Regions from separate parts of the Homo sapiens genome. Here all the other regions are linked to region 1. The links are contacts of gene promoters, found by promoter capture Hi-C in human tissues and cell types (Jung and others, 2019). All regions are on one chromosome and are shown on one strand. The core of a region is centred on a gene start or on the middle of the fragment in contact, and the rest is flanking DNA. Distances in the headings are between cores, read along the strand shown. Region 1 holds the start of TMEM160 (transmembrane protein 160). Region 2 overlaps SAE1 (SUMO1 activating enzyme subunit 1). Region 3 overlaps SAE1 (SUMO1 activating enzyme subunit 1).

Region 1 (5,028 bases), core at 441-2,940:
AATAAAAGAAGGCAGAAATGTCAGGCCTCTGAGCCCAAGCCAAGCCATCGCATCACCTGTGACTTGCACGTATACATCCAGATGGCCTGAAGTAACTGAAGATCCACAAAAGAAGTAAAAATAGCCTTAACTGATGACATTCCACCATTGTGATTTGTTCCTGCCCCACCTAACTGATCAATGTACTTTGTAATCTCCCCCACCCTTAAGAAGGTTCTTTGTAATTCTCCCCACCCTTGAGAATGTACTGTGTGAGATCCACCCCTGCCCGCAAAACATTGCTCTTAACTTCACCGCCTATCCCAAAACCTCTAAGAACTAATGATAATCCACCACCCTTTGCTGACTCTCTTTTCGGACTCAGCCTGCCTGCAGCCAGGTGAAATAAACAGCCATCTTGCTCACACAAAGCCTGTTTGGTGGTCTCTTCACATGGACGCGCATGAAACGATTCTCCTGCCTCAGCCTCACAAGTAGCTGGGATTACAGGTGCCTGCCACCATGCCTAATTTTTGTATTTTTAGTAGAGATGGGGTTTCACCATGTTGGTCAGGCTGGTCTCGAACTCCTGATCTCGTGATCTGCCCGCCTCAGACTCCCAAAGTGGTGGGATTACAGATGTGAGCCACCGTGCCTGGCCCGGGCTTGGATTTTATGAAGAGGAAAAGTAGGGGAGCTAGCAAGGGGGTTACACTTGAGGAGGGAGTTCAAATGGACTGCACTGCATAGCCTGCAGGCTTGCAATGAATGTGAAGCTTTAAATGGGATTAAGTGCAAATTGAAAATATTCCAGACACATTTTTCACATTCCTGGCTAGTGAAAAGGTTTATGCTGATGAGAGAAGGCAAAGCTGAATCCCGGAATGGGTTAGGGCAAAGAAAACAAATCTGTCTTAAAGAGACAGACCTGGCCGGGCACGGTGGCTCACGCCTGTAATCCCAGCACTTTTGGAGGCCGAGGCGGTTGGATCACTTGAGGTCAGGAGTTCGAGACCAGCCTGGCCAACATGGTGAAACCCTGTCTCTACTAAAGATACAAAAATTAGCTGGGCGTGGTGGCGCATGCCTATAATCCCAGCTACTCAGGAGGCTGACGCAGGAGAATCGCTTGAACCCGGGAGGTGGAGGTTGCAGTGAGCCGAGATCGCACCACTGCACTCCAGCCTGGGCGACAGAGCAAGACTCGGTCTCGGGGCGGGGAAAAAAAAGGAAGGAGGGAAGGAAGGAAGGAGGGGAGGGAAGGGAGGGAGGGAGGGAAAAAGAAAGAGAGAAAGAAAGAAAGAAGGAAAGAAAGAAAGAGAAAGAAAGAAAAAGAAAGAAAGAAAGAAAGAGAAAGAAAGAAAGAGAAACAACCAAGAAACAACTACAATAGGTGCTCGGCATGTACTCCGTTAAAAAAGATAGAATTAAAACTACAATTCCCAGCAGACATCTCGCCTGCGACTTCTGAATATCGGCTTTCCCCGAGCGCAATGATCGCTGGGATTCGTAGTCCGGTACAAAATCAAGGAGGGACGGGCACTACCGGCCTAGATGACAGAGGAGGGAATCACTGCCATTCCGACCAATGGACAGTTCACGCCGGACCTGAGTGGCGAGCGCATAGCCAATGGGTAAGCCATTCATCCTGAGTGACATGGGTTGCAACCTACCGGAGGCCGGTGGGGCGGTACGGCGCGCGGCGGCCGTAGTGCGAATCATGGGAGGCGGCTGGTGGTGGGCTCGGGCCGCTCGCCTTGCCCGTCTTCGCTTCCGGAGGTCGCTACTGCCGCCTCAGCGGCCCCGGAGCGGGGGCGCCCGGGGGTCCTTCGCCCCCGGCCACGGTCCCCGCGCCGGGGCTTCGCCGCCCCCAGTGTCCGAGCTGGATCGTGCGGACGCCTGGCTCCTCCGAAAAGCGCACGAGACAGGTCGGTGGCTAGGGGTGGGGGCGGTGCGGATGGGACGGGGGTCCCGGGCTCGCGTGGGACCTTGATGGGGCGGGGGCTTCTGCAGGAAACGGGGCCCGGGCTCGGCTCCGAGAAGGGCTTCAGTGTGAGCGCACGGAAGCGCAGACTGCAAGAGCGCAGGTGCCCGCAGAGGGGATGGGCTTGCGGGGAGGACGAGGACCCCGGGTAACGGGGCGCCGTAGGGATTGGAGGGGGTGGTAGGGTTGCGCGAGGCAGCCTCGTAGAATCGCGCCTGCCGTGGGGAGAGGGGCTTCAGGGAGAGCTTAGGGTCTGTGGAGTTGGGTACAAGATGGGTCCATCCCGATTGCAGAGGCCACCACTGTGCAGAGAGCGGGAGTGTGGATCCCCGCAGAAGAGGGGGAAGTTCAGGATTGGAGAAGGGGACAACCAATCGGGAGAAAGCTCTCTGCTGATTGGAGGGGGAGGTGATCTAGGCTGCAGAGGGCGGGGCTTGTGACGGAGGCGAGGTCCAGAATGGAGCGGACTGGCCATGTTTGTTTTTTTTTTAATTTTATTTTTTTAATGACGGTGTCTTGCTCTGTCACCGAGGCTGGACCGCAGTGGCGCAATCGTAGCCCACTGCAGCCTTGAACTCCTGGGCTCAAGCTATCCTCTTGCCTCAGCCTCCTGCTTAGCTGGAGCTACAGGCATACACCACCGCACCCAACTATTTTAATTTATGTAGAGACGGGGTCTTGCTTTGTTGCCCAGGCTGGTCTGAACTCTTGGGCTCAGAGAATCCTCCTGCCTTGGCTTCCCAAAGTGCTGGGATTATAGGTGTGAGTCACCTCACTAGGCCAGGACCGGGCATCTAGATATAGGGTGTGGTGGGCTGTTTGTAAAGGACGTGAATGGGGACGGACGTGGGTGGGATTGGCCCAGGCCATACTCGGTAGGACATGGATGGGATTGGCCCAGGCCATACTCGGTAGGAGATGGCGGCATTTGAAGGAAAAGAAGGGCGAGGCTGAAGAGCGGCCTGGATTAGGAAACAGTTTGTCCCAGAGTTCTGAGAAAGAAGTGAGTGGGCAGGCCGTGGGGGTACACGTAGAGGGAGGGGTTTGGCCAAGATGACTCCTCAGATGGAGGTTCTGCAACTTTGCCCCTAGATTGTCCTCCACATTCTGCAGGGACTATCTTGAATCCTTTATTTTTTTTGAGACGGAGTCTCACTCTGTCGCCCAGGCTGGAGTGCAGTGGCATGATCTTGGCTCGCTGCAACCTCTACCTCCTGGATTCAAGTGATTCTCCTCCCTCAGCTTCCTGAGTAGCTGGGACTACAAGCACGTGCTACCACACCCTGCTAATTTTAACATTTTTAGTAGAGACAGGGTTTGACTATGTTGGCCAGGCTGGTCTCAAACTCCTGACCTCATGATCCGCCTGCCTTGGCCTCCCAAAGTGCTGGGATTACAGGGGTGAGCCACCACACCCGGCCCTTGAATCCTTAGTGTTACAGAGTTTGGGGGAGAGGGGCACTGAGGTGGAGGCCAGAGAGGATGTGGGGGGATATGGTTAGGTGAGCGGCTTCCTGGAAGAGGTGAGGATTTGGGATGGGCTTGCCTTGCGGCTGGATGGGATGGGGTGAGCTGAAGGGAGGCCCCTCAGTTTGACTGGGTAAGGGGGATTGAGGAGGTAGGGTTGGGGGTGATGTTAATCCCCCCATGTCCCCCTCCCTCCAGCCTTCCTCTCCTGGTTCCGCAATGGCCTCCTGGCATCGGGCATCGGGGTCATCTCCTTCATGCAGAGTGACATGGGTCGGGAAGCAGCATATGGTGAGTGCAGACCCCCCCTCTCGCCCCACGGAACCAGGGAATGCAGAGCCCCTATCACCTGCCCTGGTGAGAGTAGACTCTCCTACCCCATCCCACTCCCAGTAGTAAGTATAGAACCCCCATTCTTCCCCCACCAGAAGACACCCCTCCCATAGGCACTAGGTCCATCTGAATGGGTGGCCCAGGACATGGTTATGGTCCCCTCCCCTCCGATCTGATTCTCAAAGATGCAGGCTAGCCCCTGGCACGGCCCTGCCTCTGTTCCTGTCTCCTCAACCCTGGCTTTGCTCCCAGACCATCCCCCGACCTTGGCCCTGTTGCTACCCTGCCTCTCCCGCAGGCTTCTTCCTGCTGGGCGGCCTGTGCGTGGTGTGGGGCAGCGCCTCGTACGCCGTGGGCCTGGCGGCGCTGCGAGGACCCATGCAGCTGACGCTGGGGGGCGCGGCCGTGGGCGCGGGCGCCGTGCTGGCCGCCAGCCTGCTCTGGGCGTGCGCCGTGGGCCTCTACATGGGGCAGCTGGAGCTGGACGTGGAGCTGGTGCCCGAGGACGACGGGACGGCCTCCGCGGAAGGCCCTGATGAGGCGGGTCGGCCGCCACCCGAGTGAGCGACACGGCCGTGGGGCCTGGCAGGCGCTGGACAGCGCCCGAGGACTGGGACATTAAACCTGACCTCCCCTCCTCCAGATGCAGAGTATTGGTTCGTGTTCCTTGGGAAGGGCGGCGAGGAGCGGACTAACTGGAGAGGCAGGAGGGCGGGTGGAGGGAGAGGGGGGTGAGGACCCGGGGGAGACAGAAATGGACAGAGGAGCTCACAGCCCGGAGCCCAAACCACTGCAGGGAGAGCCGGCGTTTAATTCTCAGGGCTACGGGCAGAGCCGGGCCTACTGTCCTGGGGGACCCCGGTTGTCGCAGGGTCCGGCGCCGGCAGCTCTGCCAGTCCTCAGTCCCCCTTCCGCGGCAGCCTGGTGCCCGCGGGCCCCGGGTAGGGCAGGCCCAGGGGCGGGTAAAAGGCCTCCGGGAGCGCGGGGCCCGGACCCAGCCTCTGCAGGTGCGGGTACACCAGGCCCAGCTCCGCGGGGCCGTAGCGGATGGTGCCGGGTGTGCACAGGCCCCGCACCACCGGCGGCAGGAAGCCCGCGTGCAGGAGGGTGGGCGGGGGGTCCCCGGGAGGCGCCAGGCCCCATGGCCGCACCGGATCCTGCTTCAGGACCCCTGCCCGGATGACAGAGGTGAACTCGGGCCTCGGTGTGGCCGGGTGGCTGGAGGGATCCTCGTCGCCACTGTCCTCGGAGCCTTTGGTTTCCCT
Region 2 (5,068 bases), core at 281-2,780, 140 kb before region 1:
ACCCTGCTTCTGGGCTATGCTTTTCTCAGTGCCAATGTCAGACAAAGGCCCCTGGCCTGTATTTCTCTGGTAACTTCCACCTGTCCAGTATAGACGGGGCTCTGCATATCAGAGAAGAGGTAATTTCTTTTTCTTTTTCTTTTCTTTCTTTTTTTTTTTTTTTGAGACAATCTTGCTCTGTTGCCCAGGCTGGAGTGCAATGGCGTGATCTCGGCTCAATGCAACCTCCACCTCCCGGGTTCAAGCCATTCTCCTGCCTCAACCTGCCAAGTAACTGGGGATTACAGGTGCCTGCAGCCACACCCAGCTAATTTTTTGTATTTTTAGTAGAGATGGGGTTTCACTAAAAATAGAAAAATTCCTGGTCTCAAGTTCCTGACCTCAGGTGATCCTCCCACCTTGGCCCCCCAAAGTGCTGGAATTACAGGCGTGAGCCACAGCACCCAGCTGGTAATTTCTTTAAAAAAAAAAAGGAAAGAAAAGAAAAAAGCTCCAGAACACCCATTGACTCTTCTGAATACTGTTTGCTTTCTGAGAATGTTACTCTCTTCTCTTTTTCAAGAACACAGCTTCTGCAACCCTCAATGCTACCTCAACACTTGGCAGTCAACTCAAAGCTGTAACAATTGGCCAGGTGTGGTGGCTCATGCCTGTAATCCCAGCACTTTCAGAGGCTGAGGCAGGTGGATCACCTGAGGTCAGGAGTTCAAGACCAGCCTGGCCAACACAGCGAAACCCCATCTCTACTAAAAATACCAAAAAAATTAGCCGTGCATGGTGGTGGGTGCCTGTAATCTCAGCTACTCGGGAGGCTGAGGCAGGAGAATCTCTTGAACCCGGGAGGTGGAGGTTGCAGTGAGCCGAGATTGTGCCACTGCACTCCAGCCTGGGCGACAGAGCAAGACTCTGTCTCCAAAAAAAAAAAAAAAAAGGCTGTGACCATCTAGACGATCTGGATGCCAGAGAGCACTGATCTGCTACCACCCAATACTTCTACTTTTGTAGATGTCCTGCTGGTATTCCGATTGTAGTAAATAAATGCAACTGAGTAACCATTTTGGGGCAGGGTAGAGAAATGACTGCAGAAGTGGCAAGTACTGCCTGTTTGGACCAAGCCTCTTTTCAAAAAATGTCCCATAAAATAAAGGAGGCCAGGTGCAGTGGCTCACACCTGTAACCCCAGCACTTTGGGAGGCTAAGGTGGGCAGATCACTTGAGGTCAGGAGTTTGAGACCAGCCTGGCCAACATGGTGAAACCCCATCTCTACTAAAAATAGGAAAATTAGCCGAAAGTGTGGTGGGTGCCTATAATCAAGTACTTGGGAGGCTGAGGCAGTAGAATTGCTTGAACCCAGGATTCAGAGGTTGCGGTGAGCCGAAATCACACCGCTGCACTCCAGTCTGGGCTACAGAGAGAGGCTGTCTCAAAAAATAAATTAAGTAGCCGGGCATGGTGGCTGATGCCTGTAATCCCAGCACTTTGGGAGGCCAAGGCGGGTGGATCACGAGGTCAGGGGTTCAAGACCAGCCTGGCCAAGATGATAAAACCCCATCTCTATTAAAAATACAAAAATTAGCTGGGCATGGTGGCGGACGCTTTTAATCCCAGCTACTCGGGAGCCTGAGGCAGGAGTCGCTCAAACCCAGGAGGCAGAGGTTGCAGTGAGCCGGTATCGTGCCACTGCAATCTAGCCTGGGTGACAGAGCGAGACTCTGTCTCAAAACAACAACGACGACAACAACAACAACAACAAACCAGTAGGAAGGGTGATAATAATTACCCGCTCACCAGGTTATCGTGAAGATCACATGAGTGCTAAGCCATGTGAAATGTTTAGTATAGTGCCTGACACATAGTAGGCACTATAACGCTTTGGGCTTTGGTGCTCCCAAAGCTATATTTTCTTTCTCTCTCTTTTTTCTTTTTTTTTTTTTGAGACAGAGTCTCGCTCTGTTGCCCAGGCTGGAGTGCGGTGGCGCGATCTCGGCTCACTGCAAGCTCCGCCTCCCGGGTTCACGCCATTCTCCTGCCTCAGCCTCCCGAGTAGCTGGGACTACAGGCGGCCATCACCACGCCCGGCTAATTTTTGTATTTTTAGTATAGACGGGGTTTCACCGTGTTAGCCAGGATGGTCTCGATCTCCTGACCTTGTGATCGGCCCGCCTTGGCCTCCCAAAGTGCTGGGATTACAGGTGTGAGCCACCGCGCCCGGCCTATTCCCACAGCTATGTTTTCAAACCAAAAGATGAAAAGCTTTGTGGTAACAGCTGAAAAAAAAAATCACCTCCTCTTGTTGGTCCCTTGTGACAGTTGGTGCTTGTGTCCCAGTAACAAAGAAATAAGATCGCACAAGAGTCATCTAGCACAGGGTTCCTGCCACTGTCCATCACCTTGCACCTGGAAAGCAGGCAGCCTCAGTTTCCACGTGACTGCTGCAAGGCCTCAGACTGTGCCCTATAAGCAGCCCATGCACAGCTTTGCCTCCATCTGCTCAGGCAGTGTTGATACCCTTTCTGGGTCTTGTTGCCCTGTTCTCTCAGGAGTGACTGACAGGACTAGCGTTTAACATTTGATGCAATATCCTCTGCTTTGGCTATACTAACAGATGGCTGGATTCCTTTATTTTTATTCATTTATTTACTTGTTTTTGTTTTTCTTCTTTTTTTTTGAGATGGAGTCTCACTCTGTCACCCAGGCTGGAGACGCCCACAACCACGCCCAAATAACTTTTGTATTTTTACTAGTGACGGGGCTTCACTATGTTGGCCAGGCTGGTCTCGAACTTCTGACCTTAAGTGATCCTCCTGCCTCAGCCTCCCAAAGTGCTGGGATTATAGGCATGACCCACTACGCCCAACCTACCCATCCTACTTTACAGATCAGGAAACTGAAGTTCAGAAACATTAAATGACTTGGTCACTGTAACTCCCAAGTACTGGAGCAGAAATGTAAACTCAAATCTAGCTTCAGAATTTGTGCTTCTTAACCCTAATGGAATCCAAAAGAAACAGCAGGTCCATACAGGGACACAGCACCTAGGATTCCAAGTGGTCTGGTTCTTTGCCACCCACCTCAGGGGATCCCCCATTTGATCAAGTTTTTGTCAAATGCATTTTTCCAGATGGGCCTCGCCTCTGTTAATTTCAAGCTGTAAGTTCAGTGGGTGAGAAGTGGAGACCGTGGTCATATAAAACTTTGCCCATCAATCTTGAGAGAGTAAACCAGCTTCCTCTTAGGAAGAAATAGGACAGCATTAAGAGCAGGAGCAAAGGCGGCAGCAGCTGACCCCGCTGTTTCTCTGGGACCCTTGCCTGTTCCTGGTGCAGTTTGGCTGGACGAGGGCCGGCAGGCTGGCACCATCCACATACCTCGCTGACCACATCTGAAGTCCTTGCAGGGCCTCTGGGAAGGGGGCCAATCAGTCCAGCCACTTACTTGCAGCAAAACAAACAGAAGCTGTCTTTTTTCACTCTTTCTCGAAGGTCAGACTCCAGTTAGCAGCAGTGGAGGGGGGCAGGAAGAAAGCCATGTTCTTGACAGGCAGCAGCCTCAGAACTGACCCTAGCCCCTGACAAGTTCTCGCTTATTAAATTCTCCTTTGTTCTGCTTTCCGCCCCGCCCCAAGAGCCAAACACGCACACATACCACTGTTGACTGCATTTCTGAAGAGCACCTCCCACCAGTTTACACATTATAAAACTGTTCCGTTAAGATCAAACACTGTCAGGGATAGAGAGGTGCTCTACCAAAAGATGACTCATCAAATCGTATCAAAACACTGCACAAAATTAGAGTTCCAAACTTGATTAACTTCATCTGCACCTTTTAATTAACTCAGGATGCTGAAGTCTGGGGGGATGACATTCATTGCTGGAGATGATGGACTAGTGTCTCGGCTTAGGTTCAGGACTTGCCCATGTAATGGAAAAGGCAAACTTTGGAAAAGAGAAACCAAGCACGGTTTCACGTTATTTATAGAAAAAACTGTGGATATGTGAATATACAACCACCTTTACAAAATAATGTAAGCACTCAAATTCAAATTTAATCTCAGTTCATAACATCAGGTTAGCGCTATAACGGGAATCTGGACAGCAACATTATTAATCACTGTTTGTTACATAAACTTCTATTACATTTAACTATTATGCCTAAATCTAATCACCAAGGCCACCGAATAAACCAGTACTTTAGTAGGAAGAAAATAAAGTCACTGTCACAAATTAGCCCCTAATTGCTGGCCCCCAAAAACAGTTCAATTGTGGGGGGCAGGGGAGTTGAATCTATATCAAAACTTCATTTACCTGAGACAGGCCCAAAGCTTTTCTGTGCCAGACACCTCGGCCCCAATTCCCTGGCTCCCTGCAGCTGAACGTAGACTCCTCCCCAGGGTTGGCTCACTTTTGTTTTTTTTGTTTGTTCGTTTTAAGACAGAGTCTCGCTCTGTCACCCAGGCTGGAGTGCAGTGGCGCGATCTTTGCTCACTGCAACCTCCGCCTCCCAGGTGCAAGCGATTCTACTGCCTCAGCCTCCTGAGTAGCTGGGATTACAGGCACGCACCACTACGCCCGGCTCATTTATATACATATTTTTTAGTAGAGATGGGGTTTCACCATGTTGGTCAGGCTGGTCTCAAATTCCTGACCTCGTGATCCGCCTGCCTCAGCCTCCCAAAGCGCTGGGGTTACAGGCGTGAGCCACTGCGCCCAGCCCCCAGGTTGGCTCACTTTATGGAGAGTCGCTATCTCTGGAAACAGCCTGGTAATCTGCTCCACTCCCAGGTGACATAAATTTCCAGAAAAATTGCAAAGTATGGTAGTACTACCTCTTATCCAACAGCCTGTTTCCTAAGGCAAAGCCCTGGGCCTGACATTCAGTCAATTGTTCATTCAATAAATATACACTGAGCAATGACTGTGCCAGGTGCTGGGCTGGGCAGGCGAGGGCAGAATGGATGGTCTACCCTCTCACAGCATTTCAGAGGGCAATCAACAAAAACTACACAGGAGATAACAATGTCCTAACTCGAAAAGGGGCTTTGAGAGAGCCTCAGGGGGGTGCAATGAG
Region 3 (5,123 bases), core at 1,765-4,264, 160 kb before region 1:
GAAAGTAGTGTAGCGAGGGTCACATGGCTGAGTGGTAGAGTCTAGGTTTGAACATGGCAGTCTGGAAGGATTCACTCTCAACAGTTAACAGGGGTGACCTCCGGGGAGTGGATATGAAAGTGGATAAAGCTAGGCTGGGCGCTGTGGCTTACACCTATAATCCCAGCATTTTGGGTGCTGAGGCAGGTGGATTACTTCAGGTCAGGAGTTCGAGAGCAGCCAGGCCAACATGGTGAAACCCTGTCTACTAAAAGTACAAAAATTAGCTGGGCATGGTGGCCGGGGCCTGTAATCCCAGCTACTTGGGAGGCTGAGGCAGGAGAATTGCTTGAAACCAGGAGGTGGAGGTTGCAGTGAGCCGAGATCACACCACTGCACTCTAGCCTGGGTGACAGAGCAAGACTCCGTCTATTAAAAAAAAAAAAAAGAAAAAAGAAAAAGAAAAAAAGAAAGTGGATACAGCTAACATGTCCAAAAAGCATCTCATATTTCTCTCCAAAATGCAGTTTAGCTGTGAAGTCAGCTGCTCTTATTATGTGGCCAACATTGTGCTGACAGGCTGTGCCCTGCAGCGGAGAGGAATCTTCTCTTTATGCTTGTATATTGCTTGAATATCGTACAAGCTTAGGAACCAAATCCACCCACCCTTTTGGACCTAGTTGAAGGCCCTCTTTTATGAAGGCCGACATGATGTTTTCCAGTGACTACTGGGTCTCAGGGACTTGTGAAGGGAAGCCCAAAATCTTGTTCTCACTGAGCGAACAAGCCGTGCCACTACATGAATCTCTACTGAGTGCCCCGCACCGCAGCTTTCCCAGTCAGCGCCATTTCCATCTCTCCCTTGCTTGTGAGGTGAGCCTGTTTCCTTATCTCCAGTATGGGTAGGAGAACAGCATCTATCCCCATGGGGTTGCTGTGGGGATTCCAACTCAAAGAACAAGGATTCTGAAAAGTACCAGGCAGGTTGCATGGGTATAATGACCATTGGTTGTTATCATTAAACTTACCACCTGCAACCTAAGCCATCTCTTCCACACCTGTAATGAGCTAATAGAACATACGTCAAGATAACTTTTTTTTTTTTTTTTGAGATGGAGTCTCGCTCTGTTGCCCAGGCTGGACTGCAGTGGCACGATCTCGGCTCACTGCAACCTCCGCCTCCCAGGTGCAAGCGATTCTCCTGCCTCAGCCTCCTGAGTAGCTGGATTACAGCCACGCGCCACCATGCCCAGCTAGTTTTTGTATTTTTTTTTTTTAGTAGAGACGGGGTTTCACTATGTTGGTCAGGCTGGTGTTGAACTCCTGACCTCGCGATCCGCCCGCCTCGGCCTCCCAAAGTGCTGGGATTTTTTTTTCGAGACAGTGTCTCACTCTTTCACCCAGGCTTCAGTGCAGTGGTGAAATCCAGGTCATTTCAGCCTCAAACTCCTGGGCTCAAGTGATCCTCCTGCCCCAGTCTCCCAAGCAGCTGTGACCACAGGCACAAGCCACTATGCTCAGCTATTTCTTTTTTTGTGGAGATGGGGTCTTGCTTTGTTTCCCAAGTTGGTCACGAACTCTTGGGCTGAAGTGCTTCTCCCGCCACAGCCTCCCACCATGCCTGACTGACTGCAGATTTTGAGATGGAGTGTCACACTGTTACCCGGGCTGGAGTGCAGTGGTGCGACCTCAGCTCATTGCGACCTCCGCCTCCCAGGTTCAAGTGATTCTCCTGTCTCAGCCTCCCCCAGTAGCTGAGATTACAGGCACCCGCCACCATGCCCGGCTAATTTTTGTAATTTTAGTAGACAGGGTTTCACCACGTTGGCCTGGCTGCTCTCAAACTCCTGACCTCGTGATTCGTCCGCCTCAGCCTCCCAAAATGTTGGGATTACAGGCGTGAGCCACCACGCCTGGCCTTTTTTTCTTCATTTTTATGATTAATACAAACATCATGTGGCAGTTTATGAAATTTGTAGAAACTAGACATTTCTTGCCTGGGGCTGGCAGCTTTCCCCTCGATTCCTGAGGGGTCCTCTGGGTGACTTAATCTCTGCCGTTAGAGGTACAGGGTGGAAAAGTTTGAAGCTTCCGGGACGATTCTACAATTTTGTTTTTATCAATCCAGACCCACCTGCTCCCCCTTGTGACCAAGGCTGCACATTACAGTCAAGAGTATAATTAGCTCAGAATTTAAAGACCACGTGAAATTCATGCAGCAATGTAACTGCTGACCCTGACGCCACTGACTTGCACTAAAGGTGGCGAGACACGGATCCTTTCCGAAATGCAGCCCCTGTCTCACCTCCGGCGGGAGCAGGTGATGCAGGGTTGAGGAACAGAGGCCCTTCTGTAGTGAAGACCACTTTTCTCCCCGACTAACTGCTGCAGGATCAGAATAGGAAAGAGACTGATTTATTGAAACATCACACAATTTACATAAAGAAGAAACACAAGCAAGAGTGGGGTGAACTGGAACGCACTTTGGCTGCATCAAGGCAAACCTGGTCTTCCAATAAAAGCTCTGACCCGTAGCGGCTGTGGCACTTGGGGCATATGAAGCATCACTTTTGACTTCCCTTTATTATTATAATTCTTGCCACTGAAAATAGCCACTATTTAGCTGAATTATCCATTAGACAACTGGAGCCAGAAGCTTCTACACATTCTAGAATGTGAACAATTTAACTCTTGCTGCATCACCCAGAAAAAATGGTGGCAGGAATGGTGAGGGAGAGGAGGAATCTCTTGAGTTAGAGCCTCAGGTCTGAAAAGGCAACTGGTAGGATCATCCCATTCCCTCTCAGAAGCTTCTGAAGTGGAAGAAAAACAAGCAAATCCTAAAGCAAGTAACTTTATTATCATTCCTTTAAAAAGAACCAAGGAAAATTCACAACATATGTGAAACACAAACAGCTGTGGTTTAGGAGGTAAACAAAGGACCAACATAGCCCTGAAATGCAACAGCCTCTGAGTGACTTGAGCCGCATGTGACTGGGGTTCTGTTAAAAGGGCAGGCTCCTCCCTCCTAGCCCTGAAGCCCCAGGAACCTGCCTTGAAAGACAAGCTCTCTAATACTCAACTTGCAGGGTCTCGCCCTAACATCCAAGACTTGGTAGCATCTCCTTTCTCCCAAAACCCAGCTGGAACTCAACTAATCCTAAACGAAAACTCAAGAACAGCACACCAGATGCCACCTGTTGTTTGTCAGGGTCTCAAACTCCAGAGGAAATGCATTTGCCTGTCATGGTTTTCCTCTCTAAGGGCACCTGTCTGAACTTGGAGCTGTGCTTCCACTGGTGCCTCATGGGGCCTGGGCCTACTCTCCACCTGAATTCACACTTTTCTCTATAAGGTATCAGGTGGGGAATAAGTCCAAGAAGGTGACAAGAGGCTCCCGAGCAACAGAGCTTGCTCATTCCTGGCAGGCATCTCCCACAATGCCCCAGAGGGCTGGCGAGGCCGGGACAGCATAAGGACAGAGAAAGGGCAGAGGGGTGCTTGGAAGTGCTCATCACTCAGGGGAGCTGGCAGGCCCGGGATGACAGGCAGCCTGAACAGTGCTGGAACAAAGACAGCCACCCTGCGCCCCTTGTCGAGCAGCTGCTGGTGATGGGAAGCAGCACGTCGGCACCACCTCCTTCGTTGCAGGAAATGTTTTGTATCGGGCCAATGACTTCAGTTTTCCTTGCCTGGAGATGCCTTCATGAAGGAAGGGGACAGGGAATACAGGTGGGCATGCTGCAGTTGGCATCTCTGGGGCTGCCAAATCTTGAGTTCACTTGGGGCCAAGGCACTCCACAATCCCATTCCCCTTCATGCCATCGAAGAAGAAGAAGTTGTTGTGAGGAGGGTCCCGCTGAGACAGGGCCTGGGGAGAAAAATGAAAAGAGGGTTTAGCTCAAGTGCTTTAAGAGGAATAGAGGGAAAAAAAAATTCTAAAAGCAGTCTAGGGCAGTGGTTCTTAACTGGGGTCGATTTTGCTCCCAAAGGGCTATTTGGCAATGTCTGGAGACAATTTTGATTGTCCTATCTCCTTGCTCTGTCCCTTACAAGCTGTGTGTCCATGGGGAGATTATTTAACCTCTCCAAACATTACCTTATTTTCCTAACATGAGATTAAGAAATGTATTTGCCTGGGTTAAACTATGTATCTCAAAAATGTAAAACAGGCCAGGGCCAGGCACATTCACACCTGTAATCCCAGCACTTTGGGAGGCTGAGGTGGGAGAATCACTTGAGCCCAGGAATTCAAGACCAGTCTGTGCAACATGGTGAGATCCCGTCTATATGAAAACTAAAATAGGTGGGGCGCAGTGGCTCACGCCTGTAATCCCAGCACTCTGGGAGGCTGAAGTGGGCGGATCACCTGAGGTTGGGAGTTGGAGACCAGCCTGGCCAACACGGTGAAACCTGTCTCTACTAAAAATACAGAAATTAGCCGAGTATGGTGGCATGCTACTCGGGAGGCTGAGGCAGGAGAATTGCTTGAACCCAGGAGGCAGAGGTTGCAGTAAACTGAGATTGCGCCACCGCACTCCAGCCTGGGCGACACAGTGAGACTCTGTCTCAAAAAAAAAGAGAAAAAGAAAAATGACATAAATTAGCCAGGTATGGTGATGCATGCCCAAGGTGCCAGCTACTCGGGAGGCTGAGGTGGGAGGATCGCTTGAGCCTGGGACATTGAGGCTGCAGTGAGCTGTAATAGTGCCACTATACTCCAGCCTGGGGAACAGAGTGAGACCCTGTCTCAAAACAAAAAACAAACAAACAAAAAAACACCTTAAAACTAAAACAATGACTAACACTGTGTTGCACCACCATTGGGCAAACAGCAGAAATAATTATTCATGACTATTCAACTGAGAAAGGTGGCAGTTCTTAGGCTGTGGCCTTTATCACCTAAGGGGACACATTTAATCAAGGAACACACTGATGCAGAAGCGGGGGCTATTCCATGAGGACATAGAGTCGCTAGGCTTCCACAGGGGGTCAGGGCTGGGATCCAGAGGGCCTGGACAATGCTATTTAGCAATGGCAATGGTGATTATCTTGTGGGGTTACCAGACAGAGCACTTTAAAATACAAGAACAGGGCTGGGCTTAATGTCTCACATCTGTAATCCCAGCACTTAGGGAGGCCGA

The links. Contacts are between HindIII fragments. The study calls those that stand out against the background at their distance.
Region 2: a contact is called between a fragment that was not itself captured here and the fragment with the promoter of TMEM160 in region 1, in 1 of the 25 tissues and cell types used here (bladder).
Region 3: a fragment that was not itself captured here is called in contact with the fragment with the promoter of TMEM160 in region 1 in 3 of the 25 tissues and cell types used here (aorta, liver and mesenchymal stem cells).

What each region holds. Positions count from the first base shown.
Region 1 is chr19:47,045,286-47,050,313 of GRCh38, reverse strand. It overlaps TMEM160 (transmembrane protein 160), which reads left to right and starts at 1,690. Exons shown (of 3, transcript NM_017854.2): 1 at 1,690-1,907; 2 at 3,629-3,721; 3 at 4,062-4,405. The coding sequence starts at 1,700. The coding sequence ends at 4,327. It overlaps NPAS1 (neuronal PAS domain protein 1), which reads right to left. Exons shown (of 12, transcript NM_002517.4): 12 at 4,539-5,028. The coding sequence ends at 4,663. RefSeq lists enhancers at 230-747, 748-1,265, 1,389-1,683, 2,193-2,262 and a silencer at 1,723-1,912. The HindIII fragment of the contact is 17,900 bases long and covers 1-5,028 here.
Region 2 is chr19:47,188,921-47,193,988 of GRCh38, reverse strand. All of the region lies in intron 6 of SAE1 (SUMO1 activating enzyme subunit 1), which reads right to left. Among named protein-coding and RNA genes, the nearest start is that of MIR3190, 35 kb to the left of the region's middle. RefSeq lists an enhancer at 4,133-4,899. The HindIII fragment of the contact is 3,517 bases long and covers 1-3,288 here.
Region 3 is chr19:47,207,886-47,213,008 of GRCh38, reverse strand. SAE1 (SUMO1 activating enzyme subunit 1) reads right to left here. Exons shown (of 9, transcript NM_005500.3): 9 at 2,373-3,850. The coding sequence ends at 3,758. Among named protein-coding and RNA genes, the nearest start is that of MIR3190, 16 kb to the left of the region's middle. RefSeq lists enhancers at 1,983-2,277, 3,269-4,018. The HindIII fragment of the contact is 3,338 bases long and covers 1,346-4,683 here.